Regions from separate parts of the Homo sapiens genome. Here all the other regions are linked to region 1. Evidence: promoter capture Hi-C in 16 types of primary human blood cells and fetal thymus (Javierre and others, 2016). All regions are on one chromosome and are shown on one strand. The core of a region is centred on a gene start or on the middle of the fragment in contact, and the rest is flanking DNA. Distances in the headings are between cores, read along the strand shown.

What was found. The method cuts DNA at HindIII sites, captures the fragments that hold promoters and counts their contacts. A CHiCAGO score of 5 or more calls a contact.
Region 2: a contact is called between a fragment that was not itself captured here and the fragment with the promoter of CNEP1R1 in region 1, in 13 of 17 cell types (total CD8 T cells, naive B cells, total CD4 T cells and 10 more). The highest score is 12.0, in total CD8 T cells.
Region 3: a contact is called between a fragment that was not itself captured here and the fragment with the promoter of CNEP1R1 in region 1, in 6 of 17 cell types (naive CD8 T cells, activated CD4 T cells, naive B cells and 3 more). The highest score is 8.8, in naive CD8 T cells.
Region 4: a contact is called between a fragment that was not itself captured here and the fragment with the promoter of CNEP1R1 in region 1, in 3 of 17 cell types (endothelial precursors, fetal thymus and total CD4 T cells). The highest score is 7.4, in endothelial precursors.
Region 5: a fragment that was not itself captured here is called in contact with the fragment with the promoter of CNEP1R1 in region 1 in 4 of 17 cell types (neutrophils, naive CD8 T cells, total B cells and 1 more); the score reaches 6.9 in neutrophils.
Region 6: a fragment that was not itself captured here is called in contact with the fragment with the promoter of CNEP1R1 in region 1 in 12 of 17 cell types (total CD8 T cells, naive B cells, neutrophils and 9 more); the score reaches 12.8 in total CD8 T cells.
Region 7: a fragment that was not itself captured here is called in contact with the fragment with the promoter of CNEP1R1 in region 1 in 5 of 17 cell types (naive CD8 T cells, total CD8 T cells, naive B cells and 2 more); the score reaches 7.7 in naive CD8 T cells.

Annotation. Positions count from the first base shown.
Region 1 is chr16:50,023,926-50,026,625 of GRCh38, forward strand. It overlaps CNEP1R1 (CTD nuclear envelope phosphatase 1 regulatory subunit 1), which reads left to right and starts at 1,300. Exons shown (of 6, transcript NM_001281789.2): 1 at 1,300-1,415; 2 at 2,471-2,542. The coding sequence starts at 1,391. RefSeq lists an enhancer at 989-1,490 and a silencer at 1,304-1,613. The HindIII fragment of the contact is 11,127 bases long and covers 1-2,218 here.
Region 2 is chr16:50,652,331-50,655,030 of GRCh38, forward strand. No RefSeq gene overlaps it. Among named protein-coding and RNA genes, the nearest start is that of SNX20, 28 kb to the right of the region's middle. RefSeq lists a silencer at 2,044-2,224. The HindIII fragment of the contact is 254 bases long and covers 1,291-1,544 here.
Region 3 is chr16:50,615,647-50,618,346 of GRCh38, forward strand. All of the region lies in intron 4 of NKD1 (NKD inhibitor of Wnt signaling pathway 1), which reads left to right. Among named protein-coding and RNA genes, the nearest start is that of NKD1-AS1, 3.3 kb to the left of the region's middle. The HindIII fragment of the contact is 953 bases long and covers 870-1,822 here.
Region 4 is chr16:49,406,235-49,408,934 of GRCh38, forward strand. All of the region lies in intron 7 of LOC105371244 (a long non-coding RNA gene), which reads right to left. Among named protein-coding and RNA genes, the nearest start is that of C16orf78, 34 kb to the left of the region's middle. The HindIII fragment of the contact is 1,749 bases long and covers 430-2,178 here.
Region 5 is chr16:50,727,888-50,730,587 of GRCh38, forward strand. NOD2 (nucleotide binding oligomerization domain containing 2) reads left to right here. Exons shown (of 12, transcript NM_001370466.1): 11 at 1,931-2,014. CYLD-AS1 (CYLD antisense RNA 1) reads right to left here. Exons shown (of 7, transcript NR_184279.1): 5 at 1,956-2,066; 6 at 1,126-1,263; 7 at 1-563. Among named protein-coding and RNA genes, the nearest start is that of CYLD, 13 kb to the right of the region's middle. The HindIII fragment of the contact is 3,218 bases long and covers 1-2,700 here.
Region 6 is chr16:50,668,730-50,671,429 of GRCh38, forward strand. It overlaps LOC101927272 (a long non-coding RNA gene), which reads left to right and starts at 126. Exons shown (of 3, transcript NR_110908.1): 1 at 126-431; 2 at 1,954-2,264; 3 at 2,419-2,700. It also overlaps a transcript of SNX20 not described here. The HindIII fragment of the contact is 1,314 bases long and covers 594-1,907 here.
Region 7 is chr16:50,686,956-50,689,655 of GRCh38, forward strand. No RefSeq gene overlaps it. Among named protein-coding and RNA genes, the nearest start is that of NOD2, 5.3 kb to the right of the region's middle. The HindIII fragment of the contact is 3,251 bases long and covers 1-2,700 here.

The DNA.
Region 1 (2,700 bases), core at 50-2,549:
TAAGCTGCAATTGTTTTAATATTGCTTGTTTAGCTGCTAGAGGAAAAAAACGAACATTGTGGCAGTTAGAACATCGTTTATTCTTTAAGTGTCTGGGTCTTGAGTGATTTAACCCTTGCCTGGCAGGGCCTTAGGTCTTGTTTATAAGTTGGTATGTTACTGCCACAAAAAAATCTAGCCCATCAGTCTTAGATTCTTTTTTTTTTCTTTTTCTTTTTTGACAGTCTCACGCTGTCACCCAGGCTGGAGTGCAGTGGCTCACTGCAACCTCCGTCTCCTGGGTTCAAGTGACTCTCGTGCCTCAGCCTCCCAAAGAGCTGGGATTACAGGCATGCACCACCACGTCTGGATAATTTTTTTGTATTTTCAGTAGAAACAGGGTTTTGTCATGTTGCCCAGGCTGGTCTCAACTCCTGACCTCAAGTGATCCACGCGCCTCAGCCTCCCAGAGTGTTGGGATTAACAGGCGTGAGCCACCGCGCCCGGCCAGGATCTCTATTTTAACACAACTATTCTTATTTGAAATCAATTACTTATTTGCATGTTTGTTGCCTGCTGTAGCCCTTCCTCTTTGCGGGCAGGAATCCTGTCTACCTGGCTCACACGCGTATCAATACAGTGTCTAGCATGTTAGGCAATAAAATGATTTTGAATGAAAGAATGCCACCAATAAATGAACAAGAAGGCCTTGTGATCAAATACAAATGTAGTCAATCCCTTACAGATCTCTTCTTAAGTTATAGGTATTTGGGCTTACACTTTGCCTCATTTAGGAATTATGAAAGCTGGGTGATGTGAGAGGAAAGTAACCAAGAGAGAAGTGTTTACTTAAGGGGTTGGTTATCTAGGATACCATAATTAAGGAAACTGGTTATTTAGGGTTCTAGTTAGTTCTGTACAGATTTCATTACTCCTTGAGATCCTTGAGGACAGAACCAGCTCTTTGATTTCTGTATCCCTCGCTAGCGACCAGAATAATGCCTGGAAGGTAGTGGGCGCTCAATCAACATTTGACGAATGAAAGAACCAAGCGGGGAACGGGGGATAAATGAATGAACGAACTGGCTCCGGAGGGCTGCAGTTCCTCCCCGGGGCAGCAGGCGACGCCAGCGTTACGCCCGCCTGGCCGCCGGCAGTTCTTGGTCCCTCCGGCTGACCGTCCAACGCTAGGCGCCGAGGCCGGTGCAAGAGACAGCCAATAGAAAGCTGTCTTAGTTGGAGGTCTAGTAGAGGAATCCAATGAGCGTAGCGGGTCTAGGCAAGGGGCGGTGCGACGGGGAGGGGCAGCGGGGAGCGGTTAGAGGTGGGAGTTGGCGCTGCGGGCCGGGCGGGGGCCGCGGAAGCTGCGATGCGGACAGGGCAGCGGCGGTGACCCGAGCTGCCGCCCGACATGAACTCGCTGGAGCAGGCGGAAGGTAGGGTGGGCCGCCCGGGCCCGTCCCCCGTCTCCCCTCGGAAGCTGGCGGTGCTCCGGAGGAGCCGGCGTCGTGAAGACCCCCGCCCCGGGAGGAGGCCGCAGAGGATGGAGCTAGGGGCCCGGAGCTTGGGGGCGCGTAGGCGGCCGTACCTGGCCAGACGCGGGGGGCGGTGCCTCAGCTCCCTGAGTCCCCACAAACCTAGAGGGTCGACCTCCTCGCCAGCTTCTATTTTTATTTTCTTTTCACTGGCAGACACTTGCACTTCGTGCATTGCAGCCTGCTAATTCATTTCATTTCATTCTCACAGCCCCGCGAGTTGTATCCCTGATTCCTGCGGTGGTTTCCGGTAACTGCCAAGGTTAGGAAGTGCTGCTCGGTGTTTTAAAGTTTAAAGCACACCACTGCGGAAAGGATACCCCACCACTCACTCGGAGCAGCTTAGACGCCCCTGTCTTCTAGAACTAGGCGCTGCCTGGGTGCCACGAAGATCACCTGTACCCCTTCGGAGGGGGCAAGGGGAATGTCTTTCCACACCCACTCGCTATCAGTGTCAAGAAGTCTAGTAAGGCCAGACGGCGTAGCCATTAATTAAATATAAGAGCTGGAAACCGGAGGCGGGTAATTGCAGTCAGGTAGACCTCGAAGACTTTGATGTTAGGCACTACGTGGTTCTAATAGGAAGTTCTTGGTTCCCAGAGAGCTAAAACTCGACCTGATTTTAATTTTATTTGCAACCCTGAAAATGTTCGCTTTTGGCGCTGGCCGAGGCTGCTGCTTATTTCTCCCAATACCATTTATGAAGCTTCTAAAAGTAAATCAGCAAGTTTTCTTATATGAGAAATTGGAATTAAAGAGCCCTAATTTTTTGTCAAGTGCTTAAAAAGCTGTCATAGTAAATGAAATAAACAGTGCAGTGATACATGGAAGTTAGTGTGTAAGACCTGAAGCAGTTAAGAGTATCTCACATGTCGTCTTAATGTTAGGTAAATACTCTGACATTTCGTCAGACGAGTAAGAGTGGCTAATTAGAAAATTGACATCTTTATACCTAGATCTCAAGGCTTTTGAGAGGAGACTTACTGAATATATTCATTGTTTGCAACCTGCTACTGGACGCTGGAGAAGTAAGTTCCTGAATGTTATTTTAAGGGAAAACTAACAATTGATACTTTTATCCTAATATAGGAATGATTTGCTTTTATGTAAAATGTTTGTTTAAATTTATTTAACATTGTAGACAATGCCTTATGAAGAAATTTTTAAGAAAAGGAAATTATAACTG
Region 2 (2,700 bases), core at 168-2,667, 630 kb after region 1:
AAGTCCACTGAAAAACAGTGACCTCCATTATATATGCAAACTCAGGGTGAGGCCCTATCTTGGGCATTAGATGAGCTGAGTTGAAGGCTCAGCATGGCCAACAATTTGCTCTGCAGTCCTGAGGAAACCGTTTCCCCTCTGTGAGTCTCAGTTTGCCCGTGTCTGCAATGGGGTTAATTACATCATAAGACACCGGCTGTTGTGAGCAGCGAGATAATCCCCAAGGCTGCTGACAGTGAGAAGGAGGGCTGCCTAGGGTCCAAAGAGATGCAAGAGGCAGTGGCCAGTTTCCTGTCCACATCATCCCCCCAACACATACTGGTTCAGATTCAGTTCCATCTGAGCTGGGCTCCAGCTTGACCAGGTACCATGATGGCAGCTGCCGCCTCACTTCCAACACCATCTCCCGGACCACATGCCTGCTCACAAACCCTTTGGAATACTTCGGAGGCCCTCAGTGGCTTCACGTCTCATGGCCGAGGGTGGATTAGGCGGGGTGCCTAGATGCGGGGAGGACAGGCAGGCCTTCCCTTAAACAGTCAGCCAAGCATCACATGCCGCCTGTCAAAGGGGGGTTTCAGATGCGGGGATTATGAACACCAAGAGTACAATTTCCTGATAAAATAGAAGAGGCGATTAAGTTAATGAAGGCTCATTTTGCTGATTTGAAAACTATAATTAATAGACATTAATTGTATATTTAGAAGTTTAGTGTGGCGTGGGCTCAGGAGCCGTTGTCAAACACAATGACGTTGTAAGTACTGCATAATAGACCGAGCCCAGATGTTCCCCGAAGCCCCTCACGAGAGCTTTGCAAGGGGCTTCTCTAATGATAAAAGCTGCCTCTTGCTGTTCTGCTCTTCCTTTAATGACATCCTTTCTGAGACGATGCTTATCACTCGTGCTTTCATCTTTGGTTAAATAGCATATGGCCTCAGCTGATTAAAAACCCCTCCTGGTTTTAATCAGCAACTCGGGATCAGGTTTCTAATGGTGGCCGTGGTGGCCTTACCAGTCCCATGGTAAGGTTTTTGACCACATCTACATGTGGAGAAAGGGTGGTGGGAGTGAGGGGCTTGGAGCTGGCCCTGTCTGGGTCCTGGGTTGAAGGACAGCTGCTGTGGCCCTCCTGGAATGACCTGAGCCAGGGCCAGTTCCAGGGATGCCTTGGGGATCAGGCTGGGCTAGTTCAGGCAGTCTTCAGGGGACCAAGTTGGCTCAAGGCCAGGCCCGGCTCACCTTGGCTGTGGCTGGAAAGTTGGACTCTCAGATCCCCTCCTTCTTAGCAAAAGCTTCAATGTTTGAGGCAAACTCTGCAGGGTCCACCCAGCTAAGGAGGAAGAGGAAGGGCCACAGAAGAGACTCGAGCGATGGAATCAGATGATGGAGCTTGAATCCTGGTCCCACTGCCTGGTGGCTGTTTAGGCTGCACCAATTGGAGACTTGCTTTCTCATGATCATCAGATGACCTCTGTTAAGTCTCTTTTTATCCCCATTGTACAGATGAGAAAACTGAGGCTCATTCCAGGGTTGAGAGCTGACTAAGCTTGGTCTGTGAGTCAGGAAGGATGGTGATGCTCACAAAAAAGGGACACAGAAATGGGGGCCAGGAACTTTGAGGAGGGACTGTTCAATCCCCTCCCTTCTCCGATATGAGCCCCTTAAGGAATGGGATGGGACCATGTCTGTCCTGGTCATTATGGGAGAGCCAGTGCTGAGCACAGTGCCAGGTCTATGTCAGGTCAGTCCCCAACAGGTGTTTTGAGAGGTAGTGATCCCATGGGAGGTAGCAGAGTGGACCGCAGCTGGTGGCATCCAGCAGGCAGGTGACAGATTTCTATTGATCGCTGGCTCTGCACACACTCCCCCTGCGCTCTAGCTCCTCCTGCCTGCATGGGATCATAAGGCTCATTCTGGCCTATGGCTGGGAGTGGAAGTGCCTGGATGAAAGTATTTAAGAGCCAGTTCGTGTCTCTTTAGTTCTCTCTGCCCCTAAAGCCTCATGTTGACATGGCACAGCTGCAAGAGAGGAGGAGCCTGGTTTGCTGAGCTGTGGCATGGAAGAAAAGCGTCTTGGTTACAGAAATCAGCTGGGTGTCAGTCCCAACTATTCAGGAGGCTGAGACGGGAGGATCACTTGAGTCCAGGAGGTCGAGGCTGCAGTGAGCCGTGATTGTGCCACTGCTCTCAGGCTGGCAACAGAGTGAGACCCTGTCTCAAAAAGAAAAGAAAAGAAATTATCCTGGAGAGTCGCCTGCATTGCCCTGGACTTTGTGAGCATGAGAAGTACCCTGTGATATGTGAAGCCATGGAGAGTTAAGGTTATTGTCTGTATGCAGACTTACATTCCTGCCACAGAACCCAGCCCATTCTGACTACAAGGCAGAGTTTCTGAACTGGAGTTAGAGAGGGAGGGAGGGCTGGATTCAGGGATCTGGCTGGTGTGATCCTAGTTTGACAGGCTCAGGGTCATCTGGTCAACCCCTGCCTGGCACCCACAGCCCCTGGGCCATCCCCTCCTCTCTGTGTGCCAGACAAGGTAGGCTGTCGTATGGGGTCTCCTTGGTGGAGGAGGGTCCTCAGGAGGAGGCCCAGGAGAATGGGCCTGGAGGGACTTGGAGGTGGTGGCCCTTCCTTGCTTTGCCACCTTGCTTGATACAGGCCTGTGGGGAGAAGTGCGGGGGTCCTTATCCAAGCCCA
Region 3 (2,700 bases), core at 96-2,595, 590 kb after region 1:
CCTTTGGACCCCTCCTTAGGGGAAAGGGGGCCACTGGAGGGGTTTAAGCAGGGAAACGGCATAATCAGTTTTGGTTTTTAAGCTCAGTTTCCTCTTTTGTACGATGCCAACAGTAGCACACCCTGCACAGTGTTAAGAGGACTTAATGGAATAATGTGTGGTACTACTAACTTCACCAGCCTCTCCATGCAGCCCACCACAGTATGTGGCTGTGTTTACAAACAGAGGTGGGATCGCTAGGACCCTCATTCCCTAAGGAGAGCCTGATACAGATACTGCAAGAAACCATTTGGCCTGGAATGCACATATGATATCTTTCTCTTTTTACTGGCAGCAGATTTACCCGCCTAATTATATTTGGCAGAGGCTAATATTAAAATTCATCTGCATTCCCTCGAACAGCTGCTGTCAGAAGGTTGTGGACTCAAACATCTTGGCAAGCAACCCTGAGACTAAAATATTTGCAGCAGATAATCTGTACGTGGACGATTGAGAAAGGACTGTGGATATGTCAGGGCGAGCATCCAGACTCTAGCAAGGAAGTTCTGGCTTGTGTTAAATCTTACATTGTATTCACTGAGAAGAACTTGCCAGGTAACTAGGCTAAGAGAGGGGTCTGCCATGCAATTGAATTGTTAGTAATTTCTGGTCTTTAGTGGGGCTGATTTAGTCATAACTGTGTTTCAAATTTGTCTCTTCTTTCCAAGTTTCATATGCACCAGGCCTTTCTGGATTGTGTTAAGATAAGCTGGCATTTACTGGTATCATCCCAGGTTTGGATTTTTATGTAAATTTCAACTCCCCACCTCCCCATGGCACTTCCCAGTCTCCATCAAGGCAGAAGGTATGGCATATTTGTTATGTAGCCAAGCTTCCTTATGCCTACCTGTAGAATGTGCTGTAGTTCAGCAGGCCTGGCGGAATCTCTGCCCTGTGCACGTATGGGAAGTGCTAGGCATTGGGCAACCCGGGAGCAGAAGCCTAGAAGGCGCCAGATCTCAAGAAACTTGCTTTCTGGCTGTGCAGATGTGGAGGCTCCTGTGAAGCAATCAGAAGGTCCCAGATAGGACTGTACAGAATAAAGTGCTAGACTGAATGGCGGGAGACAGCACCCCACTAGCTCCGGATGCATTCATGCAAATTAGAAAAAAGCTGCCCCTCCTCAAGACACCTTTCTGCCATCTGTCCAAAGGATGTCATAAGCAATACACATATCTAGGGTATTGGTCATATGAGTGGCACCACCTGGGGTTGTACAGTGCACAGCCTGCTTCTTGGATCCGGTCTCCTAGTGACCTCAAGTGACCCCAGACCAAGGGGAAGAGCCCCGAGGAGCTCACCCTGTTGTACTGTTGAGGAGGACAGGTCTGTTTTATTTCACAGGCCTTCTTCTCTTGCTGTTTGGGTGGCGCCAGCTGTCAGCAGCTTGGGCTGGGTGGGCTGTGCCATCCTGCTCCCTGGGTCACTGCCATTTGCCAGGGTAAACAGTCCCGAGTGACTGTGGCTCTCACAGCATGCGGTCCCCAAGGAGCCTCCCATTGGGCCCATGGGGAGGCGGGAGGGGTGTCTAGACCCACAGTCAAAGTTGTCACCATTCAGGTATTTCCTCACTCTTCTTCTTTCGCTCTCTCTTCCTCCCCACCCCTCCCTTTTTTAAACTGGGGGAGGGGAGAGGGAAGAGACTGTCTTTGATCTCAGCGGAGGAAAAAAGTCTGTTCAGGCTTTTGGCTAACACAACAAACAGTGTTTAAAATTTAACTTTGCTTAATTAATTAGTAATTCTGTTTAATGCTGTCTGATCTCCCTCCAAAAGGTATTTTGAAGCTTGAGAAGGGAACATCAAAGGGAGCCGGGTGAAGATGGTCAAGTAATGCCTTTAATCTGGCAGTTGCTGAGGGTGGAGAGCTGCCAGGCTGGGAGCTAATGGGGAGAGAACCGTCATTTGGTAAACACAGCAAGCTGACTCCTCGTGGCTGTGGTGTGAGGAGGGACAGGGAGCAGTTTCCAAAGAGAGGGAACTCCACAAACCATTACCAACCCCCCAGATTCATATGGGCTGACAATAGGCCTTAAGAAAGCAGAGTTGACATTTTCTTTCTTCCACAGCCACTGTATGGTTGGGCAGGTTGTGTACTGCACAAGGATTTCCAGCCAAGCAGGCAAGTAATAGGTGAAACTGTCTGTGCCCTGCTCATCAAGCACATATCCTGGTGGAAGTAGAGGGTGGCACACATCTAAAGCAGCAATCAATCCACAGACTTTTTCATGAAGGGCCGGATAGTATGTATTTTAGACTTTGTGGGCTCTGTTGCAACAGTTCAACTCTGCTGTCACAGAGTGAAAGAAGCCATGGACAATGCAGATGAGCATGGCTGTGTCCCAATAAAACTTTATTTACAAAAACAGGAGGTGGGCCAGGTTTGGCTCAGCAAGTGTAGTTTGCCACCTCCTGCTCTAAGTCACCCAAAAGTGCTTCTTAGGCAAGTGAAAGGCCTTTTTTCCCCACCCGGTCTCCTGCTTTCCTTTTTTCTTCCAAATGAGCAGTGTCTCCTATAGTTCCTCAGACTTTCAATTGAAGAGTGATCAGTATGATCAGCACCCCCTGAAATTAGGCCCCCAAAAGATAATTTCTCAAGCGGAAAAATGGCTGGGCTAAACAGGAATCAGAGGCAGAGAATGGACTCAGACTCTGGTGCCAAA
Region 4 (2,700 bases), core at 54-2,553, 620 kb before region 1:
TGAAGTAGAAGGAACACTTGAGGCCAGGAGTTCAAGACCTGCCTGGGCAACATAGTAAGACCTATCTATACAAAAGGAAACTTTATTTAATTAGCCAGGGATGGTGGTGGATGCCTGTAGTCCCAGCTACTCAGGAGGCTGAGGTGGTAGGATCACTTGAGCCCAGGAGGTTAAGGCTGCAGTGAGCCACGATCATGCCACTGCACTCCAGCCTAGACAACAGAGCAAGACCCTGTCTCAAGAAAAGAAAAGAATTTCTACTTATCCAAGACATCACTAAGAGAGTGAAAAGGCCAGCAACACAAGCAAGAGAAGATATTTCTTCTGACAACATATCTGACAAAGGACTCCTATCCAGGTGATATATTTTTAACTCCTATATATATTGGTAAGAAAAAGGCAGGTCACTCAGTGGAAAAAATAGGCAAAAGCTTCTATTAGTATAGAAACTTCACAAAAGAGGATAGCCAAGTGACCAATAAACATAAAAAATGTCATTAATCATCAGGATATGCAAGTTATAAAACACGATGCAGAATCACTACGCACACACTAGAATGGCTGAAGACTGGCAATGGCAAAGCCCATTGGTGAGAATCTGGAGCAATCAGAACTCTCACACTCTTGCCATTGCCCTGCAGGTTGGCACAACCACTTAGGAAAACTGGGAGCATCCAGTAAAGTTGAATATACACTCCTCTATGGTCTGGTATTTCCTATGCATACATACTGAACAGAACTGCATGCACATGTGCACCAATAGATGTAAGCACCAATGGACGTGTGCACCAATAGACGTGTGCACCAATGGATGTGTGCACCAATAGACGTGTGCACCAATAGACGTGTGCACCAATGAACGTGTGCGCCAATAGATGTGTGTGCCAATGGACGTGTGCGCCAATAGACGTGTGCGCCAATAGATGTGTGTGCCAATGGACGTGTGCGCCAATAGACGTGTGCATCAATAGACGTGTGCGCCAATGAACGTGTGCATCAATAGACGTGTGCATCAATGGACGTGTGCGCCAATGAACGTGTGCACCAATAGACGTGTGTGTTAATGGACATGTGCGCCAATGGATGTATGAACCAATGGACGTATGCGCCAATGGACGTGTGCACCAATGGACGTGTACACCAATAGACGTGTGCGCCAATGGATGTGTGCACCAATAGACATGTGCTAACTTTTGCAGCAACTTTATTCTATATAACCAAGAACTGGAATCAACCCAAATATCCATCAGTCAACAGTAGAAAGCATATCTTGCAGTATAATCATGCAATGGAATACCGCATGAAAACAAGAATGACCAAACAATACGGATGCATTATACACAACGTATTCTGCAAAAGTAGCAAAATACAAAAAAGAACACCTGTGGAGTTCCATTTATACAACCTTCAACCCAGGCCAAAAAAAAAAAAAAATAGAACCTAGACCTAATCTATAGTGTTGGAAGTCAGGATGGTGGCTATCCTTGGAAGAGGGGGTATGTGATCCACCGGAGGCCAGTTAGCTTAGAAAATTCATTGAGCTGTGCACTTGGGATTTATGCCCTTTATATGGGTATATTGTACTTTAGTTAAAAGTACATTTTAAAAAGAAATATACTAAGTGTTTTTTGTTTAAAAAAAAGTTCCGGTTTCGTTTGCTAAAAACAATAGGCTCCTCAATGGTGAAGCTATTCTAGTTCCTTCCACCTCCCAGAGGCAGAGGCTAAACCTAAGTCCCTTAAGGCCTGGCGCATGTCCTCCAGGTGTGCAATGACTGTGGCAGGGCGTGGCCTTGTGCAGCTGCTGGAGTAAATTTCTCCCCTTCCATTTCTTTCCCTCCTCTTGCCCTTCCCCTTCCCCTTCCCTTCCTGCGCCACCAGGTGGGGCTCTATCACAGCAGAAGGCTACTCTCCTGACGGTGTCCACGCTGTCTGGCCCGGCTGCTGGCAGAGCCGTCAGCCTATCCAAGGGGAAGCCGGGCCCTCGAGCCTAAGCCTCGGGTAGATGAACACAAGCCCAGCTACTCACTAACATCACTTTTCTGAGACTTCAATTCTTTTCCTCCAAATCGGGGCAAGAAATGCAAGTTAAAATAACCATGAGGTACCACTCTATGAGACTGAAACATGTTAGAAAGCTAGGGAAGGCCAATGTTGGCACAGACGTGGAAACGAAGGAAGCTTCATGCCTTGCAGTAGGAGTGTGGGCCACTGCAGCCGCTCTAGGTTAAATTACACATGGACACTGCAGGGACCTAGCAAGCAGCCCCACTCCTGGACGTATATTCCAAAGTTCTATCCCAGGAGATCTATTTAAGGACACTAGCACTGGCAGGAATGTCTGGGTGCTGGTGGATGGCAAAACAAGGTGAGTGAAAAAGATGGGAAACAGGATGAGAAGGGACACTCTAGTCTTAACACAAACTGAAAATACACACATACAACAACACACTGCTTACAAGAACACATGCAAATACATTCAGACAGCTGGAAAAGGATTGGGAAGGGAAGAAGGAAGAAATGAAGGAAGGAAGGGAGGAGAAATAAAATGTGAAAGAAAATACCAAGTTTCAAGTGTTGGCGTGAAAAGAAGAATCCAAGGGAAGTTTCAAGAGTCTCTAGCACTTAGCAGGCACCCAGGAAATTTTCATTTTCTACATGTGCCTTTAAGCACTAACATTTATTGAGTGCCTACTGTGTT
Region 5 (2,700 bases), core at 166-2,665, 700 kb after region 1:
ATGACCTTTTTTTTTTGGTGCGAATTTGCCTTTGGGAAGTGCTTTGGAGCTTCTTCTCGGTCCAACCACTGAGCTAGTCATTGCCAGTTGTATAAAATCCACTTTTCATCGCACGTCACAATCAGATCAAGAAATGGTTCGCTGTTGTTGTGTAGAATAAGAGAAGATGACACTTCAAAATGACGATTTTCTTGGTTTTCACTCAGCTCATGAGGCACACACTTATCGAGGTTTTTCACCTTTCCAATTTGCTTCAAATGCTGAATGACCATGGAATGGTCGATGTTGAGTTCTCAAGTAGTTGTAAGAAAATCAGCTTTGATGATTGCTCTCAATTGGTCATTGTCAGCTTCTGATGGCCTGCCAGTACACTCCTCATCTTCAAGGCTCTTATCTCCTTCGCAAAACTTCTTGAACCACCACTGCACTATACGTTAGTTAGCAGTTCCTGGGCCAAATGCATTGCTGATGTTGTGAGTTGTCTCCGCTGCTTTACAACCCATTTTGAATTCAAATAAGAAAATTGCTTGAATTTGCTTTTTGTCTAACATCATTTTCATAGTCTAAAATAAATATAAAATAAACAGAAAGTATTAAGTCATTAGCAAAAAATCATAAAGTGAGAATTGTGCATTAAAATGATGTATAGCATAACCACATTTATTTAAGAATGTATTCCAATATCAAATGGCAAATTTCAACAATGCAAAAACTGCAATTACTTTTGCACCAATCTAATAGAAGTTCAATAAATACTGGCAATTACAATTGGCATTGCCTTAGGGTCAACTTGTAAGACATTCCTGAAATTGTGGGAAAGGGGGAGGACCTGGAGTGGACATTATTGGAAGGCAAAGCTGTAACCAAAAGAGCAACCTGGGAAACACATGACTCCTCTGTTGCTGTCCCTGGCCCTATCCTGTCTCCCCTCCCTGTTGTCAGCTACCTCATATGTTCTCTAATCTCTGTCTCTGTGCCCTCAAAGACCCCCCTGAAAATAGAAATATTACTGCTCATTGGTTATTTTCTATCAATTAAGTACTGTATTAGTCCGTTTTCATGCTGATGATAAAGATATACCCAAGACTGGGCACTTTATGAAAGAAAGAGTTTTATTGAACTTACAGTTCCACGTGGCTGGGGAGGTCTCACAATCATGGCTGAAGGTGAAAGGCACATCTCACATGGCAGCAGACAGGAGAAGAGGGCTTGTTCAGGGAAACTCCCCTTTTTAAAACCATCAGATATCATGAAACTTATTTACTGTAATGAGAACAGGATGGGATTCAATTACCTTCCACTGGGTCGCTCCCACAACACGTGGGAATTCAAGAGATTTGGGTGGGGACACAGCCAAACCATATCAAGTACTGTGCAAGTGTTTTAGGCATGCAGAGAGTGGTGGGTCTTCCCAGCAAGCAGAGTGTGGGGAGGTAATGGGGGACTGGTGGCTGACTTAATGGCCCAGGACCCATGCCACAAGGAGATGGATGGTGGATGTGAATAGGAGCCTGCTTACACCCATCACAATTTAGATTCTTATGCTCGATGGCACGGGTACTCTTTTAGGCCCATTTTACCAATGAGGAGATTGGGACTAATTTGCTCGAGATCAAAAAAGAAGTGGTGTAGGTGGGATTTAAACCCAGGATGTCTAGCACTAAAATGCAGGTACTTAACCACTATCCTAAGGGAGTGGCTACTTAATTTGATAAACTCATCTAGTGAATGGAAGAGAGACGGTTACATTTCACTGATGGTACTGAGCCTTTGTTGATGAGCTCATTGGGAATCTCAGACATGAGCAGGATGTGTCTAAGGGACAGGTGGGCTTCAGTAGACTGGCTAACTCCTGCAGTCTCTTTAACTGGACAGTTTCAAGAGGAAAACCAAGAATCCTTGAAGCTCACCATTGTATCTTCTTTTCCAGGTTGTCCAATAACTGCATCACCTACCTAGGGGCAGAAGCCCTCCTGCAGGCCCTTGAAAGGAATGACACCATCCTGGAAGTCTGGTAAGGCCCCTGGGCAGGCCTGTTTTAGCTCTCCGAACCTCAGTTTTTCTATCTGTAAAATGGGGTGACGGGAGAGAGGAATGGCAGAATTTTGAGGATCCCTTCTGATTCTGACATTCAGTGAGAATGATTCTGCATGTGAAGGATCTGATTCTCTGTCTAAGAAAGAAGTCTTTACCTCTTTAAGTAGGGAGCAATGATTTCATTTTTAAACCTTGACTATTTATTCAGCAACTTCTCTGCTCTATGAGATAGTGTAGGAATGGGGATGTGGTTGAAGAATGAAAAGAAAAGTCAGCTCCCGCCCTCCTAGAAATTGCATCTGCCTTCACAGGTCAAGGATATTGGATCAGACCTTCTGCGGTTCTGAATGGAGATTACACAGGTTAGGAGCAGGTTGCACAGTGTTTCCAATTCTCTATAATTAAAGCCATAGACTTTCATGTATTGAAAAAAGCAAGAATTGCATTCTTGACAGATTCTTTCATTGCCTTAAAAAGAATGACTAGCCTTGGGAGTCTGGGCAGCTGGGTCCAGTGTTGTAGACTTTCTCTCTGCTGAGCCACAGCTTCAAAGATTTGTCCTTCTTGTTTCCAGGGATCTATTTCTCAGACAATAAGTAAAGGCTTTCCCTGGCCTAATGTGCTGTAAGTGAATGCTACTATATATGTTCCAGGCACTGGGCT
Region 6 (2,700 bases), core at 1-2,500, 640 kb after region 1:
GCCCAAGAGAGGCCTGCTGGGGATGTGTTGGGAGCCAACCTACCCCTACCAGCAGGTGGAACTGGTTTTGCCACTCCAAAACAGAGTTCCAGCTATGGGGACAGCCACTAGAGAGCAGAGCTAAGGGCATTCTAGGCCAAGGGGTCACAGTCCACCCTGAACTGTGCCTCCCAGCCTGAAGCCAGAAAGCTCAGGGAGGCTAGCGGCCCTGCCCAGGCCTCAGCACTGACCCTGCACCCCTAGGCCCAGCTGGATGACCCCTAAGAGCTTCCTGGAATTTGGATGCAGGGTTATTCTGTGTGTGCTGCCTCTCAGAGCATGTCACTTTGACGTGGACATCTCGGGTCTGGTTCTGGTGCTGTCCCTGTCTCGCCACGTGACCCTGGATAAGTCATCTCTCCAGGCCTTGATTTCCCCATCTGTAAACAGAGGTGAGTGAAATGATCTTTAAAGGCGTGTCAGTCCATTTTGCATTGCTATAAAGGAATACCTGAGGTTGGGTAGCTTATAAAGAAAAGAGGGTTATTTGGCTCACAGTTGTGCAGGTTGTACAGAAGCATGGCACCAGCATTGCTTCTTGTGAAGCTTCAGGAAGCTTCCACTTATGGTGGAAGGGGAAGGGGGAGTTCGTGACTTACATGGCAAGAGAGGGAGCAAGAGCCATGTCAGGCTCTTCTAAACAACCAGCTCTCATGTAAACTAACAGAGTGAGAACTCATTCATTACCACGGGGAGGGCACCAAGCCATCCATGAGGGACCTGCCCCCATGAGCCAAACATCTCCCACCAGGCCACACCTTCAACACTGGGAGTCACATTCAGCATGAGATTTGGAGGTGACCACCATGCATCCAAACCATATCAAGGACCCATTTCGGTGAGGGGACCAGGAACATATCCCTTCCCCTCTCCTCCACATCCTTTAATGTGGAGTTCAGCAAGGAAAGTAGGGCTTGGGTCAAATTAAAGCCTGGTCTTAATTTCCTGGTCCAGTTATTAGCTGTGTAACCCTGGGCAAGTCACTTAACCCCCTCAGGTTACAATGTTACAAATGATCACATTTTCCTCAACTGAAAAATGGGATAGGAACATGTCCCAAGCAGAGCTGGAGTGACGGTGCTATCAATGGCCCGGCAGTGCCTGGTCACACAGTAGGCCTGGGGAGCCCTGACTTTTACCGCACAGGGAGCTGCTTGCAGAGCTTGTTTTCAATTGTGGGCTTGGCAGGGAACTGCCGGCATCCCAGGGGACAGGGTCTCATGAGGATGCCTAATCCCAGCTCAAAGTGGAGACCCCAGGACTCCATCACAGCCAGTGGGGGGGAGTGGCTGCTGCAGCAGGGAGGGCTTCATTGGAATGAACCCCTTTAAGCTCCAGTCCAAATGCCCAGAGTGGTTTTGCAGGTATGGTTGTGAGGCTGGCATGGTAGTCCCATCTGCAGTCCCCTGGGATGAGGCACCTGTATGGTAGAGGGCCCGGGTGGAGAGAAGAGAAGGATGGGGATGAACCCAGGACCACAGATGGCCCAGTTCCATGGATGATTTTCATTGAGGTGCCTTCAAGTCAGTTCAACACTGGGCTTCTCAACCTTTGAGGTATGCAGGTAAGAGTCACCTGCGGCAGTGGGGGATGCTCTTGTTAAAGTGCAGACTCCGATTAAGCAGGTCTAGGGTGGGGCCTGAAATTCTGTGTTCCTAACAAGGCTCCATCCTGGGTATGGAGGTCAGGTACCCCCTCACCTCTCCTGTGGACCCAGCTTTTGAGGGGTCAGGAGAAGAATGTTCAGTCCCAGCTGCCACCACTCTAAAGTCCCCTAGAAACAAGGACTAATACAGGTGGCGTGGGAGAGGGCCCAGGCAAACAGGGAGGTGGGGTACCCCGGTGGGGCTGCAGTGGGCCCTGCGGAAAGCTTGCTGGAGGTGGGGGCCTAAGGAATTCAAGGACTTGTTCCAGGAACCCAAGGAACGAGTGGGCTCTAACTGCTGCAGCATATGGGAGATGCCAGGAGGAGCTGGCTGTGGCAGGCCATCCCAGTCCATCAGACAACTTGTAGTGGATGAAGATGCAGTGTCCATGGCCAGAAGAAACTCCCGTGGATGCTCAGGCCAAGGCTGCCAGAAGCACGAGGAGGGGCAGCATTGAGTGTCATCGGGAAAAGGCAAAGTGATGGTCCTGAAGCTGCCCCATGTGGCCAGTCCCTTTTTGGGAAGCCTGAATAAATCCATTTCCTGTGCACTGTGTGGGAAGCCAACCCCTCTTCAGAGGTACTTATGGGGAACCCCCCATGTGATTCTATAGGCTCCTTTACTCCCATATAAGTATTTTCTCTCTGTGTGCACCCCCCGCCCCACCCCCCCAACACCCCACACATATCATCTATCTGTGATTTTGAGATGACTTTTTTTTTTCACATTTCAGCACCTCTGAACTCAACAGGATCCTACACTTCTTATAGGCCTGGCTTGATGCTGACATCCTTCAGCCCCAGGGAAGACCTAAAGATCTCCAGGTCTTGAGGCACCTGGAACACCTCCACCTGAGACCACTTTAACATGATTTCTCTGCTTGAGGGATTTTGGACCATGCTGTGTGTATTCAGCCCTAAAACATGGGCGAGTGCCCGCTTGCAGTTCAAATTCTCAGAGGAAGTTCCCTGTACTCCACCCAGTGCCAAGTTTAGTTTGTGCAAATTTCCTTAAT
Region 7 (2,700 bases), core at 33-2,532, 660 kb after region 1:
CATTGTCCCTCTGTCAGTAAGTCACCCATGGATAGGGCGCAGTGGCTTACGCCTGTAATCCTAGCCTGGGAGGCTAAGGCAGGCAGATCACCTGAGGTCAAGGGTTTGAGACCAACCTGGCTAACATGCTGAAACCTTGTCTCTACTAAAAATACAAAAATTAGCTGGGCATGATGGCATATGCCTGTAGTCCCAGCTACCTGGGAGGCTGAGACAGGACAATCGCTTGAGCCCAGGGGGCGGAGGTTGCAGTGAGCTGAGATGGCGCCACTGCACTCCAGCCTAGGCAACAGAGTGAGACTCCACCTCGGAAAAAAAAAAAAAGTCACTCTGAAAACAGACTTGGCCAAGCACTGGGCCAGAGGCTGAGGTCCAGCAACAAGGAAGGGACAAGGAAGGGATACCTTGAACCCTCAGAGACTGGTGATACACAGGACGGACACATGGAACTTGGGCCAACAGTGTTGGACCGTCTCGGCTGATGGCCAACAGGAGAACAGGCAGGCTGATCTTTGCAGCTGAGAGGACTGGGAGAGCCCACAGGGACTGTGGGGTCTGGAGAGCTTCCTTGCAGGAGGTGGGCATGGAAGGTCCAGATAAAAGCAGGTAGAGAAGGACGTGGACTTGACTCATAGTCCCACCATTCCATAGCTGGGTCATCTTAGGAAATTCATGATCCTCTTGAAACCTCCGTTTCTTCCTGTCAAAGATGGGGATGAGGAATGGAACCTATTCCATAGAGGTGTTGTGAGAGTACACGGCGTGGCATATGGCAAGTGTTCAATAACATATTCACACTGTGGTGTGCTCACTGTTTACCAGGCACCGAGTCCTAGTGTATGCATCCCTCATGACAAGATCTAAGTGGACTGTCATCCTCACTTAACTGTGAGGGAGACTGAGGTCAAGAGAAATGAAATGACTGGCCAAGAGCATACAGCCGCTAAGGAGCAGGGCTGGAATTCAAATCCAAGTTCGCTGGGGCCAGAGTCCTTGCAGTTGCCACCTGTTGCCTCTGCCTGGGGCACAGAGTGAGCAGAAGCTCACAGGTGGGAGTACTGAGAGCTGCGGGAAGTTGGTGAAGCTAGGGGTGCAGAGATGTGGGGAGGGAAAGCCATTCCTGTCTTCATCCATTTGGGCCAGCTTGTGGAAGTGTTTGGACTTTGGTGAGTGGGCGGGCTGCTTGGAGCAGAGGACCACCAGCGTGGAGACTGCAGCCCACTATGAGGCCGGGTTACCACCACTGTCAGCAGCAGCAGCCGCCGTCGGTCCTGGGCTGAGCTCCTACTATCCAGGCCTGCTGATGGGGGCAGTCCTCGCTCCTGGGGGAAGTGCTCAGGCACAGGCAGCTTCCCGGCCTGGAAGAATTTTGAATGACACAATCCAAGGATTTCTCTCCTCTGAGGCCCGGGGGATTCTGGAAGCATTTTCCCTCCGCCTCTTCTGAGCACTTCCTGCACGGTGCCCATGTCAGAGCACTCAAGGACAGAAATGTCTCCAGGGCATCCCAATTGCCTGTCTCGGCAGAGGGCCCTGCACACAGGGAGTTTTTAATCAATATCCCTTAACTCATTGGAAAGTTTTAAAAAATTATTATTAAACAAGTAAATTATGCTTATTAGGAAATACAGGTTAACACAGAAGAATTTTAAAAGTCCAGTTAAAATCCGATCCTAACTTGTCTTTTAGATGTTTCAATGCATATATTCACACATATCTATTACAGAATTTTTGTATAAAGTATGAGGTAGTAGTCCAAATTCATTTCTTTTGCACGTGGATATCTAGTTTTCCCAGCACCATGTGTTAAAGAGATCATTTTTCCCCTTTGAATTATCTTGGCATCCTTGTTAAAAAACAACCTACTCTTTAAATTTAGCCTTATATTCTTTCTACACAAAGCATTTGGCAGCCCAACTGTTTTTCATTGAGATATAATTCACATACCATAAAACTCACCCTTTTAAGGTGTGTAATTCACTGGTTTTTAGTCCATTCACAAGGTTGTGTAACCATCACCATGATCTAATTCCGGAATATTTTCATCATGCAAAAACAAAACAAAACAAAACAAAACAAAAACCAAACCTCATGCCCACTAGCAGTCACTCCTCATTCCTCCCTCCTCTCAGTTCCTGGCAACCAACAAATCTACTTTCTGTCTTCATGGGTTTGCCTATTCCGGACATTGCATGTAAACGGACTTACACAATAGATGTCATTTTGTGACTGGCTTCTTTCACTTAGCATAATGTTTTCAAGGTTCATTTATGTTGTAGCATTTATCAGTACTTTGTTTTTTTCACAGCTGAATAATATTCCATTGCACAGATAGATCACATTTTCTTTATCCATTCATCAGCTGAGGGACATTTAGTTTGCTTCCACTTTTTCCTCTTATGAATAATGTTGCTATGAACATTTGTGTACAAGCATTTGTGTGCATATATGCTTCAATTCTGTTGAGTATACCTAGGAGTAGAATTGCTGGATCATATGGTAACACCATGTTTAACTTTATGAAGAACCCACAAACTATTTTCCACAGTGGCTTCACCACTTTACGCTCTAACCACCAATGTATGAGGCTTCCAGTTTCTCCACATTATTTCCAGCACTTGTTTTCTGTCCTTTGGACTAAGGGCACCTTTGTGAGTGTAAAGTGGTATCTTATGGTGGCTTTGATTCACATTTCCCTAA